3 separate regions of the Homo sapiens genome follow, and all the other regions are linked to region 3. Evidence: promoter capture Hi-C in 16 types of primary human blood cells and fetal thymus (Javierre and others, 2016). All regions are on one chromosome and are shown on one strand. Each heading gives the region's core, a stretch centred on a gene start or on the middle of the fragment in contact. The rest is flanking DNA. Distances are from core to core; before and after follow the strand shown.

Evidence for each region. Contacts are between HindIII fragments. The CHiCAGO score rates a contact against its expected background, and 5 or more counts as called.
Region 1: the fragment with the promoter of JAML here is called in contact with the fragment with the promoter of TTC36 in region 3 in 10 of 17 cell types (naive CD8 T cells, non-activated CD4 T cells, total CD4 T cells and 7 more); the score reaches 8.8 in naive CD8 T cells.
Region 2: a fragment that was not itself captured here is called in contact with the fragment with the promoter of TTC36 in region 3 in 6 of 17 cell types (total CD8 T cells, neutrophils, naive CD8 T cells and 3 more); the score reaches 8.3 in total CD8 T cells.

Annotation. Positions count from the first base shown.
Region 1 is chr11:118,222,780-118,227,060 of GRCh38, reverse strand. JAML (junction adhesion molecule like) reads left to right here and starts at 2,050. Exons shown (of 10, transcript NM_001098526.2): 1 at 2,050-2,120. It overlaps MPZL3 (myelin protein zero like 3), which reads left to right. Exons shown (of 6, transcript NM_198275.3): 6 at 1-371. The HindIII fragment of the contact is 17,664 bases long and covers 1-4,281 here.
Region 2 is chr11:118,137,496-118,140,718 of GRCh38, reverse strand. The region is part of intron 4 of SCN4B (sodium voltage-gated channel beta subunit 4); the gene reads left to right. Among named protein-coding and RNA genes, the nearest start is that of SCN4B, 14 kb to the left of the region's middle. The HindIII fragment of the contact is 851 bases long and covers 1,083-1,933 here.
Region 3 is chr11:118,524,755-118,528,723 of GRCh38, reverse strand. It overlaps TTC36 (tetratricopeptide repeat domain 36), which reads right to left and starts at 1,250. Exons shown (of 3, transcript NM_001080441.4): 1 at 1,112-1,250; 2 at 1-121. The coding sequence starts at 1,229. KMT2A (lysine methyltransferase 2A) reads right to left here. Exons shown (of 36, transcript NM_001197104.2): 36 at 1,892-3,969. The region is part of intron 1 of TTC36-AS1 (TTC36 and KMT2A antisense RNA 1); the gene reads left to right. The HindIII fragment of the contact is 1,033 bases long and covers 851-1,883 here.

The DNA of each region.
Region 1 (4,281 bases), core at 801-3,300, 300 kb after region 3:
CTTCAAGAGAGAAGGTAGCACGTCTTTGTTCAAAACAAAACAAAACGACACTTCTGGAGGCCACATCCTGAATATGAATGTTCTACTAAGTCACTCAGTTATGGTTCTAAAGGGAAACTGTAAGAAGACCCACAAGGAGTGGACCAAGACTATTATTTAATTGCACAACTTGAAACTTTGCTGCCAGAAGAGGCAGCTCCATTCCTTTGACTCCAGTGTTGGGCTGTTAACTGCTGCACCTCATTGCCTTTTTTTGTTTTTGTTTTTGTTTTGTAGGAGGGTAGGCACTGTTGGGCCATATGCACAAATATTGTAACTCTTGGTATCTTTACTGCATCATAGTCAATAAACTTCTTTGTACCCTTTGGCTACCTTTTGGTGTGTGCATATCTACATAAAAGGTGGGAATTGTCATGTGAAAAAGATGGGGGTTTGTGGTATTAAAAGCTGAATTAAATTTAAAAGAGTTTAATTGAGCACAGAATGATTCATGAATCAGGCAGTCTCCTGAGCCAGAGTGGACTCAGAGACTCCAGCGCAGCCACGTGGTGGAAGATTTATGGACAGCAAAAGGAAAGTCATGTACAGGAAACAGAAGTGAGGTACAGAAATAGCCGGATTGGTTACAGCTCGGTGTTTGCCTTATTTGAATAGTTTGAATCATTGGCCATCTTCGATTGGCCAAACTCAGTGACTGGCACAAGAGTAGACTAGAGTCCGTATACTATTCCATTTACGTTATAGTTCATGATGTACAGAGAAACCTTTAGGCCAAACTTAAAATATGTAAGGAGGCAGCTTTAGGCTAAACTTGATTTAACAGTGGTTTTCAGCATCGTGCAACCAGTCATGTCGGAGCTGTACCCCCGCAAGAACCTGCAGAGGTTCCGTGGTGTGCTGGAACCAGCTTACATAGCAAGAGCTGATTACAGGCTGAGTACCCCTAATCTGAAAATACAAAAGAGTGGTTGCTATTTCAACTCCAAAATCTGTAACTTTGAGTGCCAACATGATGCTCCAAAGAAATGCTTATTGGAGCATTTTGGATTTTCAGACTAGGGACGTTCAACTTGTATGTATTCGGCAAATATTCTAAAATCTGAAAAAAATATGAAATCTGAAACATTTCTGGTCCCAAGCATATTGGATAAGGGATACTCAACCTGTATTAAGTTTTTTAGGAATTTTGCAAGCCAGTTGTTAAACTGTTGGTAGCTTGAAATAGGTTATGATGGGAATATTTATGCTGTGGAGATTGCTGGCTCTCTAGCACATCACTTCTCAAGGACCATGCAGCGTAGTGCTTGGGAGCAAACGTTCAACAGCTTTTCAGATGATACAGGACAAGTTCCATGAGTCTGCCCATGCCTAGGTCAAGCCAATCTAGCCGAGGTTGAAGGTGCGTACATTGAGAACACCTATTTTGAAGTGGTGACTAAGACTGAGAGGTATCTTGAAGTGAAGAAACCTTGAGTTCTAATCTAGGATGTCCAAGTCACCCAAGAGGTTCTCTATGGGAATCAATGGCTGCCTGTATTCTGGAAATGCTGATATCACATGGCCAGAGGAAACTTTCATGTCTACATGGTGAGTTGGAGGACTGGGCAGGCGTATCTTTGGAAGCAGGGATTGGGTGATTGCCTGGCGAGGTTGCACCTCTGTTTTGAGAGGAAAAATAAAAGAGGTTGCTGTATCTTTAACACAGAAGGTTTTGTGTTAATATTACGTTTATTGTATTTTGTTTGCATGAAATGGATTTCTTTCTCAGCACCTATTTGCCTGGTGCCATTCAAGCTCCTACCCTCAGAGGGCTTGTCATCTAAAAGGGGAGATGGCACCTGAAGAGGTCTGAGTGTGAGGTTCACCTCAGTAGGTTGAATTTGTCACCTCTTTTTAGAATGAAAGTATACATAACAATTGGGTAATGGGCCAGATGACTGAAATGAGAACCTTGATTTAGAGGTTCCTGTTTGCATCTCTGCAACCACTTCAGAAGGCACGTGTTTGGTTTGCTCTGAGCCTAACCTAGAGTGCTCGCAGCAGTCTTTCAGTTGAGCTTGGGGACTGCAGCTGTGGGGAGATTTCAGTGCATTGCCTCCCCTGGGTGCTCTTCATCTTGGGTAAGCAGTTGCTTTGAATTTCTTAAGCCATTTTTTGAACTTTTCTCACACAGAAGTGTGCCAGTCCTGAAGGCTGGTTGAATTGGTAGTCTCTCAGGATTGTGAAGCTGCGATTGCAGAACTCTTGATCTCTGCAGGGGGATGTCATAAAGTAGTCTAATGGGTGCTGTTTCAGTTACTGTCGTGTAGAGTAACTTAGGTGAATCTCCTCAGCAAAAAGAGGAGCAAAGTTTCATCATAATAAGAGTACGTGACAATGATTATGACAAGGCTTCAGCTTTTAAGTCACCCGTGGGTTTAGGTGGAGCTGTGACTGGCTGTTCTTGAGCTCACAGCAGAGCTCTTTCTTCACTGTTTTTCTTTTTAGAAGACAGTTTTTAATTTTATTTTTAAACAAATTTTATTGTGTGTATTTAAGGTATACAACATGATGTTGTGGGATGCATGTAGATAGTAAAAAGTTTACTATGGTGAAGCAGATTAATATATCCATCATTTTACATAGTTATACCACTGTTTTTCTTCTCCCCATTATAGACAAACCAATATTTAACCTTTAGAAGCCCGAGACTTAAATCTCCCAAGAAAGCTAGGCTACTGTCCATGCTTGTTACACCCTCAGCACAGCCCTGACCTTGGGAAAGGCTGATGCAGGATGGTTTAGGTATAACCTACTCTGGAGAAGAGAGCAGGAGTAAGGACCTCCAGGGTCCCATTCGCGTAGAGCATTAACCGATGTGACCTAGACTGTGTTACAGAAGCCACGTGACCTACCAGTCTGTATTCAATGGCTTAACAATGGAAAATGAGGGCATATTTTAAGACGCATGGCTTAGAGTGGTTATATGGACTTGTAGACCTAAAAACATCTGAGAGCCTAGAAGTGCACAGCAGTGTGCAGATAGATTGAGAGGACTTGGCTCTGCAGGTGGACAACACTCTGTGAGTAAAAGAAGGCTGTGCAGTTGTCCGTTTGCTCAGTGGTTAGTTGTCCTTACTAGGGACAAACACTGAGAGACAGCAGCTCTCCCTTATTTTGTCTCATGATATTGTAATTTGGGGGGTAACTTTCACATCTTGTATGGTAGTCTCATTGTAGCATGTCTCTTTTCTGAAGATTTCTTTTCTGTAATATAAAGGGGTATGGATTTTTTGGAGGGAGGGGGTGCCACTTGTTCTCATTACCCAACAGGATATGGAGGAGAGTTGCTCAGAGAAGATTAGTATAGAGTCACTACAAGTCATTTAGGTAGCCAAAATGATAACTCCAAAATTTCTAAAAGGCAAAAATCTTTACTTGCTGATAGAGGGGAGAGTCAACTTTCCAAGCAGGTCGCAATAAAGACAGCATGATGCCAACCGAATCTATTTCCTCTCTCCTCCTTTTTCTGTTGTTTATTAAAAGGTAAACAAAAATCTCATTATTTTAAAATATTATGCAAAAATCTTGTTTATGAGAGAAAGCAAAATTTCACCTTTGCATTAGTATATTATTAATGTTAGATCCAATTCTTAATAAAACCTTATAAACAAATCTATACAATCATAGTTTGACCATAAGGTAAAACGTCCACAAACCTCTCATAATTCTTTACAATTTTCTGTTAAACAAATAAATTCTCTAGAAAACCATTATTCAGACACATGGGCCCGGATTCTGGCCCTACATCAGTGTGCTTTTATTTCAGTGTTCGACCTATGGAAAAACTAAGTAATCCCCTTTAAATCTTAGCCAACCTGCTTATACCCACAGAACTTTTCATGAGATTAACCCTTCACAAACCCTTTTCAACTTGCTTAAACCATCAGTTTTGTCACATTACTCTTTTTTTTTTTTTTTTTTTTTGAGACAGAGTCTCACTCTGTCACCTAGGCTGGCATGCAGTGGCACAATCTCGACTCTCTGCAACCTCCGCCTCCCGAGTTCAAGTGATTCTCCTGCCTCAGCCTCCCAAGTAGCTGGGATTACAGGCGCTCACCACCACACCTGATTAATTTTTGTATTTTTAGTAGAGACGGGGTTTTGCCATGTTGGCCAGGCTGGTCTGGAACTCCTAACCTCAAGTGATCTCCCCACCTCAGCCTCCCAAAGTTCTGGGATGACAGGCGTGAGCCACCATGCCCAGCTGTCCCATTACTCTTTTAGGTGAGGCCAATAGTT
Region 2 (3,223 bases), core at 259-2,758, 390 kb after region 3:
ATATGGCCTCCCAGGGAGCCCTAGGATAAGTTCAGGTATAAAAATAGACATCTATAAGGGGAAGGGGAGGGAAGATGGGGGAGGTACGGAGGGTGCAACCCTCAGGCCCCAAATTTTTGGAACAGTATCAGACAGGCTCCAGAGCAGCATGTGGTGAATCTTGCAAAACTAGAGCAGGGAAAAGGCATTTGAAAGTTGTGTTCTGAGCAAGACAGATGCGACGAGATGGCTTCCCATTGGAACAGAGAGGGTGATGGTAACCACGAGATGCAGAGAATGGAGAACTCCTCTGCCCCTATTTGCTGAAACATTCTGCTCTGCTGAGAAGAGGGAATTCTGCTGTAAAGGGCAGAACTTACTCTAGAAAGAGGGGATGGAAGTTGGAGGTAGGGAGGGGCCATACAGGTAGCAGCGCTGGGGCTGGGGAGCAGGGGAGGACCCCAGAACTGGGTTGTCGATGAAGAGCTCAAGGGTTGTCTGCCTGCCTTGTGGCCAGAGGCTGTGAGGGTTTTGGTGATCGTGAGAGGGGCTAAAAGCGTGGAGCTTAATTAGGTTCTGTTTTTCATAACCAGTCTTACTATCAATGGATGGAGAACAAATTTGTCAATATATGGTTTAAAAGCACTTAGAAAAGACAACGGTGGTCCTTCAGAGCCACAGTGGGTTCATCAAAAACAAGACATGCTAAGCTGGATGTGTGTGCCTGAAGTCCCAGCTCCCTGGGGGGCTGAGGCAGGAGGATGCTTTGAGCCCAGGAGTTTGAGTCCAGCCTGGGCAACTTAGCAAGAGCTCGTCTCTTAAAAAAAAAAAGAAAAAAGAAAAAAAAAAAAGGAATGCTAGATGTCTCCTGATAAGGCACTGGCAGAACAGGAGATTGCTCTGGAAAATACCACTTCCTGTCATTCATCAAATGCCTACCATATGTTAGGAATTCCACCAGGCAATTTTATACACTACCCATAATTATTATTTTACAATTGAGCAAAGTGAGGCTCAGAGTAGTGAAGTGACTTGCCCAAGGCCACACAGCTAGTAAGTGATAGAGCTGGGATTTGAACTGTGACTAATTTGGCTTCAAAGCTTAAACCATTGCCAGGATGTTCTACTGACTCACTGGGCATATCTAGAGTTCATTCATTTATCTGTTCATTTTGTGGCTGTTTTTGAGGCACTGTGCCAGATGCTATAGGAAATTATGGAAGGAATGAGATTCTGCCTTTAACTAAAGAAGACAAGATACAAATAAATGTGTATACAAATAAATGTAATACAAGGTAGAGGGGATCAGTGCCAGCAAAGAGGTTTGATACGATGCTGCTGTGGGGGTTCAGGGCAGGGTGAAATTCTGGGAAGGATTTCTGGCTGAATGGGTGTTTGTGGCAGGCCTTGCAAGATTAATATAACTTAAGCCCTGGGGAGAGTAAAGGGAAGATTCTTCCAGATGGAGGCACCACTGAGAGCCAAGGCAGAGAGTCTGGGAAGTGGGCTTGTCTGGAGAACAAGCCTTTTGTTTGTTGAGAGAGCTGTATGGTGAGGTGGTGGGGAGGAGAATAAAAGCCTGCAGAAGGGGTTGGGGACAGACACTTGGGGACCTGGGAGTCGAGGCTGTGATTGACTTCCGACGGCAGGGGAGCTGGCGAGGGCTTGCAGGGCCCTGGCACGATCAGAGAGCACAGAAGAAAGGATCTGGCCATGGTGGGCGGAGGGATTGGGTGGAAGAGCCTGGGGGCAGGGGACAGACCGTAGGGAAGCCTGAGGGAGGTCCTTGGAGTGGCGGGGAATGCCTGCATTACAGCAGAGACAGTGGCTTCTCAAGAACAGGGAGGTACTGGACAACATCTCACCATTGATTCTGAAACGTGGGTGCTGTTTCCTCTGTCTGGAATTTACCCTCTCTCTTTTCCTGCTCATCTTTCTTGGTTTCAAAGAAGCTTGGAAGTTTAAGGTATACTTCCAAAAAGCTTCCCTGACTCCTATGAGGAGGCTTCCTAGGTTGGGTCCCTCCTTCCTACATCCCCCATCCTGTTATTTACCACAGTGTGTCACAATCACTTGTTTAATGTCACATGCCCTAGGAGAGTGCACGTTTCCGACACAGTGCCTGGTACCCAGTAGGTTCTCAGTAGAGAATTATGGACTGCGTGGAATACAGTTCGGTGGGTCGTAATTGGCTGGGTTAACTATGCCTTAGGTACAGAGACAGAAAGAAAGAAAGAGAGAGAGACAGAGAGAGAGAGATGGATCCATCCGAATAGAGGTCTTTAGTGTATTCCACAGGGCTCCACCTGTTCATTGTTATTACTAACATTTGAAGTACACTAGGGATGTCACATTTATCAACTTCCAGAAGCCTAGTAACTATGTTGGAAGAAAAAGGGATCTAGGAAGATCTTGATAGGCTGGAGCTAGGAACTAGGTATTGCAAGATGAAATTAATGAGGACAAAATATTCAGTCCTTCCCAAAGGCCTCAAACCCAGCTGCCCAAGCCCAGGGTGAGGGTAGGATGTAGTTTGGCTGTAGCAGCTGTGAAAAACTTGGCCATTTTCATGAGCAGAAAGCTCAGAGGGATGCAGGTGCTCCCTGGGGAGTTCTGTGTGCCCAGCCTGGGCGCTGCTGTGGAGGAGGGACACACTGAAGTTGGAGCATGTCCAGCTCAGAGCGGTCAGGGTGGAACGCCTCCCGGGAGGTGTCTTCCCATCTCACCATCTCTCCTTCCTCCTGTCTTCTGCTCCGTCCCACCAAACTCTGCCTAGACCTGTCACCCTTGAAGCCAAACCCACTGCCTGCTCTGCCCCTTCCATGGACTCTGTTCTTCCCTTAATACCTCTAGTCACGGAGAGCTCAGGGAGGAAGGCCTGGGGGGCCCTGGGGAGAGGGACTCTGTGTCCTCAGCATACTCCTTGCTGGCCTGGACCCCTCCCCCTGGCGTGGCACAGCCTGGGAACTGACCCCTGAGAACAGCACCTGGTGCCCTTTGCTTCCTGCCATGTTGAGACAACTAGGTGACAGCTAAGCTTTATTGAGAACTTTCTTTTTTTCTTTGTTTGAGACAGAGTCTCGCTCTGTTGCCCAGGCTGGAGTGCAGTGGCACGATCTCAGCTCACTGCAACCTCCGCCTCCCAGGTTCAAGCGATTCTCCTGCCTCAGCCTCCCTAGTAGCTGGGACTATAGGCGCCTGCCACCACGCCTGGCTAATTTTTGTATTTTTAGTAGAGATGGGG
Region 3 (3,969 bases), core at 1-2,500:
AGGCAGATGGCTTGGCCAAACCTCTCCAGGGCTGTGCTGAGGTCCCCAGCCTCTGCTGCCATCACCCCCTGCAGCTCCAGGGCCTTGGACTGTTCCAGCTGTGCTTGAGGGAAAACTTCATCTGGGCCAGGGAAGGAGCCAGGAGAAGCCAGGTGTGCAGTTGGTAGCAAGAAGAAAAAGCCACCTCAGGCTTTGGAATTCTGAGATCTGAGCCAGAGCTGACTGGGTATGGGTCACAGCAGGGGTCAGTTGCAGTGTTTGGGGTAGGGGGAGATGAGGTCACTAAGGCTGGGAGCTAGCATTGCCTGAGTTCCAAGAGACCTGGGAAGGGGCCTTGGTTGGTTCCCCATTGCCAAGAGAATGAAGCCCAGACTCCTCAATCTGTTAAAGAAGTTGCTCAAGTTCTTTGTGTATGGCCTCAACAGGCCATACGTTGCAGAGCTTGGATTTGAACCCAGGTCATTCTGGCTCCTGTCTGCATTTTACTCTACTACACCGCCTCTTATGCAAAGGCCACCATGACATTCCCAGATCATGAACATCACTTCTGACGTATCCCTCTGTGTTTCGGCCTGAGTTAGTAAGGTGTAGGCTTTACTCCTCTAGAAACAAAGGATCAAAAACTCCTTCATTAGGGATTAATGGAAAAGCCAGTGAACGCACTCACTGCGGAAGAGTTAGTTTGGAGCTTGGCTTGTGACAGTGTTTAACGGTTACTGGTTGTGCTTGCTATATTGGAACCACTCAACTGAGCAACCATGCCCTGCCTTATTTCAGTCTTCTGTTCTGGTGGTGGTATTCTCTGTTATGACAAAAATGTGAGAGTTTAACATCACCTGGCAGTTAAGCTTGGATCATACAGTCAATTAAGTGGTAAGTTCAGAGGCATGAGAGCTGATGGATCGAGAGACAAACCCCAGCTTACTCCTCTTGGCAGGACATCTCTTACCAAACCCCCATCAGTGCGCTAAGGAGCAGCCAACCTCTCTGATTCCAATCTCAATCATAATCATGGAACAAGGGGCCTTATAAAACCACCTCCCTCTCTGCTACCTCGGGAGGCCAGCAGGCCAGCCTATGTGCAGAGCTACACTCCAGATCAAATGCCCACCTTCTTCTCGTTCTTCCTTTTCTGCTTCCTCTCCGAGGTCCAATCCAACAATGTCTCCAAATGGGGTGTCAGGGTTGAAGATGGCCTGCAGCACTGCCTGATCATTTGGAGTCCCCATGGTGCTCAACTCCAAAATCCCAAAAGGTGACTCCAGATGAGAGAAGAGGGAGGGACGTGGTGAGGGTGGAGCCTCCAGCAGGAAGTTGATCTGAAAGGATGAGGACCACCCCTTCGTGAGGAGTGTCTCCCTGTCCATGGCTGTAGCATTTGCTCAACCTGTGGCCTGGAGGGTTGACCCTGGCTTGGCAGACTACTTGGTTATTTCTCAACTGCCCCTGCCCCCAGGAGAAACAGTAAACAAATCCAGCTTCAGCCTTAAGGTGGAGTGCAGCTAGAGAAGGTGTTCTCCAGCTTCTCCCTGAAATGCTTTCAGTTTATTATATTCACAGTTGAGAAAACCGATAAAAATCAATACTTAACCTCCTTGGATGAAACAGGGGAGCTATGTAGAAGGTAAAGGCCCTGTTCCTTTGTCCTCTTGACCCTGCCTCATATCCACAATTAATTAGGTCCTGAACATACATCACTGATGAATAAAGGAAGAAAATAGTCAAGAGAGCCAGTGTGGAGTGGACCTGAAGGTGGGCTACAGGGAATAATTTAGTGATGCCACCTTAAAGTAAAGGACTGTGGAAGGTACTTTGTGACCAGGTCACAGGCCATGCCCCTCCCGCTTTTCTCCACCCTCTCCAACCAAAGCCAAAAGGAAGCTTAACCATGTGCAGCAATAAACTTGACATGTTTATTAATTAAACTATCACTTAAATAAAAAAAAGTGCATAGAAAATAAACATGTTTAAAAACTCCTTTTTTTTACAACTATGTACACTTTTTACTTTTACATTCAGTCTTTCGTAGAGAGCTTTCAGCATTATTATTTTTTGAACTATTAAAGTATTTTCCTTCATCCCTGTCACAGGGAGTTAACACTGATGGACTTTAGACACATTTTCCTTTTTTTTTTTTCTCTTTTTCTCTAACCAGAAGCTTGGAAGAACACAAGGAAAAAAAACAGATCTGTTATACATGATAAAGTTGTCAAAAAATGTCTTATTTCTAGAAAAGAAGCTTGTCATCTGTTGAGCTCTTGAAACAATTATTCAACTACCTGTATTTACTAAAGAGACTGTTAAAAGTTCAATAAAAGAAACACCACAATTCTATTTTCTTGGTTGAAAGACAGAACTAGAGTACCTCGGAACAAGATACCAGGAAAGCACAGAACACAATTTTCCCCTAAATGCAGGTGGTAACCCCAACATTCATAACCAAAAATAGAGAAACAAGGAGGACAGGTACTGACTGGCAACATTCATGGGCAGAAAAAAATCCAGGTGACACCATGTCTGCATTTTTCTCTGATCCGAGGAATGGACTGTTCTACCATTCCTTTATGGTTAGAGGTTCCCCCCATTTCGGGAATCAGAGGAAAGTGAGCCTGACATCTTCCTGCCGCTACTAGCAACTGTAACACAATCCTTATCTATAGTGTTAAGAGAATTAAAAGCCATGGACTGAACTAGGCTTTGTTACATGGTGCATTACTATATTAGTTCCTATATATATCATATTTATATTTATTTGAAAACCAAAACAAACAAAAAGTTGCAAGTTTCCAGAGTGTGTGACTTGACTAGTATTCATGATTCGGCACAAAACCATCTGCTCCATAACCTTGTATTGCTTTAAAATGAAGGAAATGAAACATAAAATTACACCCAGCCCTTTGCAATGACCCGCTTTTCCTTAAAAACAAAAACAACTTGATTTCTATTAAAAAAAAAAAATCCCAAACCGAACTTAGAAGTTAACATCTGACAAGGTTTTGACCTTTAGTATTTTCAGATATTTGATTGAACGTCAGTCCTTTAGAAAGATACATTCATTAGAATATTTTTTTTATTTTTGTGTGTGTGTTGTATTTTTTTTTCCTTTTTTTTTTATTTTTTATTTTTTTTAAATCAAGGGAGCTACATGGTGCTCACTGCATTGGCCGGGGGTTTGACGGAGGCGAGCAGGGTGGCGGGCTGGGTCCCGGCAAAGGAGTCTGGTTGAAAACGTATAGCTGCCAGGGCTTCCCCCTTAATTCTTGTTATTGGTGTAAAAACAGAGGGGCTGTGCGAGAGGTGGTGGGTGGCCAAGGAGGGAGCCAAGAGACCAAGTTCCGGCCAAAGGGTCAGCGCCATGCAGCTATTCTGGTTACACAGTTGTCACTGGCCACCAGGAAATGCAGCCACAACAGGTTCTAGCAGCAAAGCTATAAGTGAGCTGGCTCTCACTGAGAACTGACCAGGTTTGCAGCTGTTACTCCTCAGGGATTTGGGATGCCCCTTGGGGGATTCTTGGGAATGACCCATCACAATTCCTCAATCTGCACTTTTGTGCGGAGATTCCCTTGGTCACTTTTGAAATGAACTCAGATGTGTTTGGAGATAGCTGTGCCGTTTTTGCCTTCTTTCCCTCTTGTAGGGAAACCTTCGCTTATTCCCCCAAGTTGCTGGCAGGTGTGCTGAAAATTTGGCAATGGACTCAAGGCTGAGCTAGAAGAGGAATTTCTCATTTTTGTGGTTGACAATTAGGGGGTGGAAAGGCAAGGCAAACCATCTGCAGCTGGCAGGAGAAGGAAGCTGTGGGTTCCTCCCCTGTCCTCAGGGTTTAGGGTTGGTAGAGAGTGAGGAGGGGCTCACAGTACAGCATGGCCTAGCAGGGCAGTAACTAGGTCTATTTAGCTGAGTTCCCCCCACCCCCTGACTGGCCTTTGGGTCTTTCTCAAGGTGAATTCAGGACCCATCAGTGCA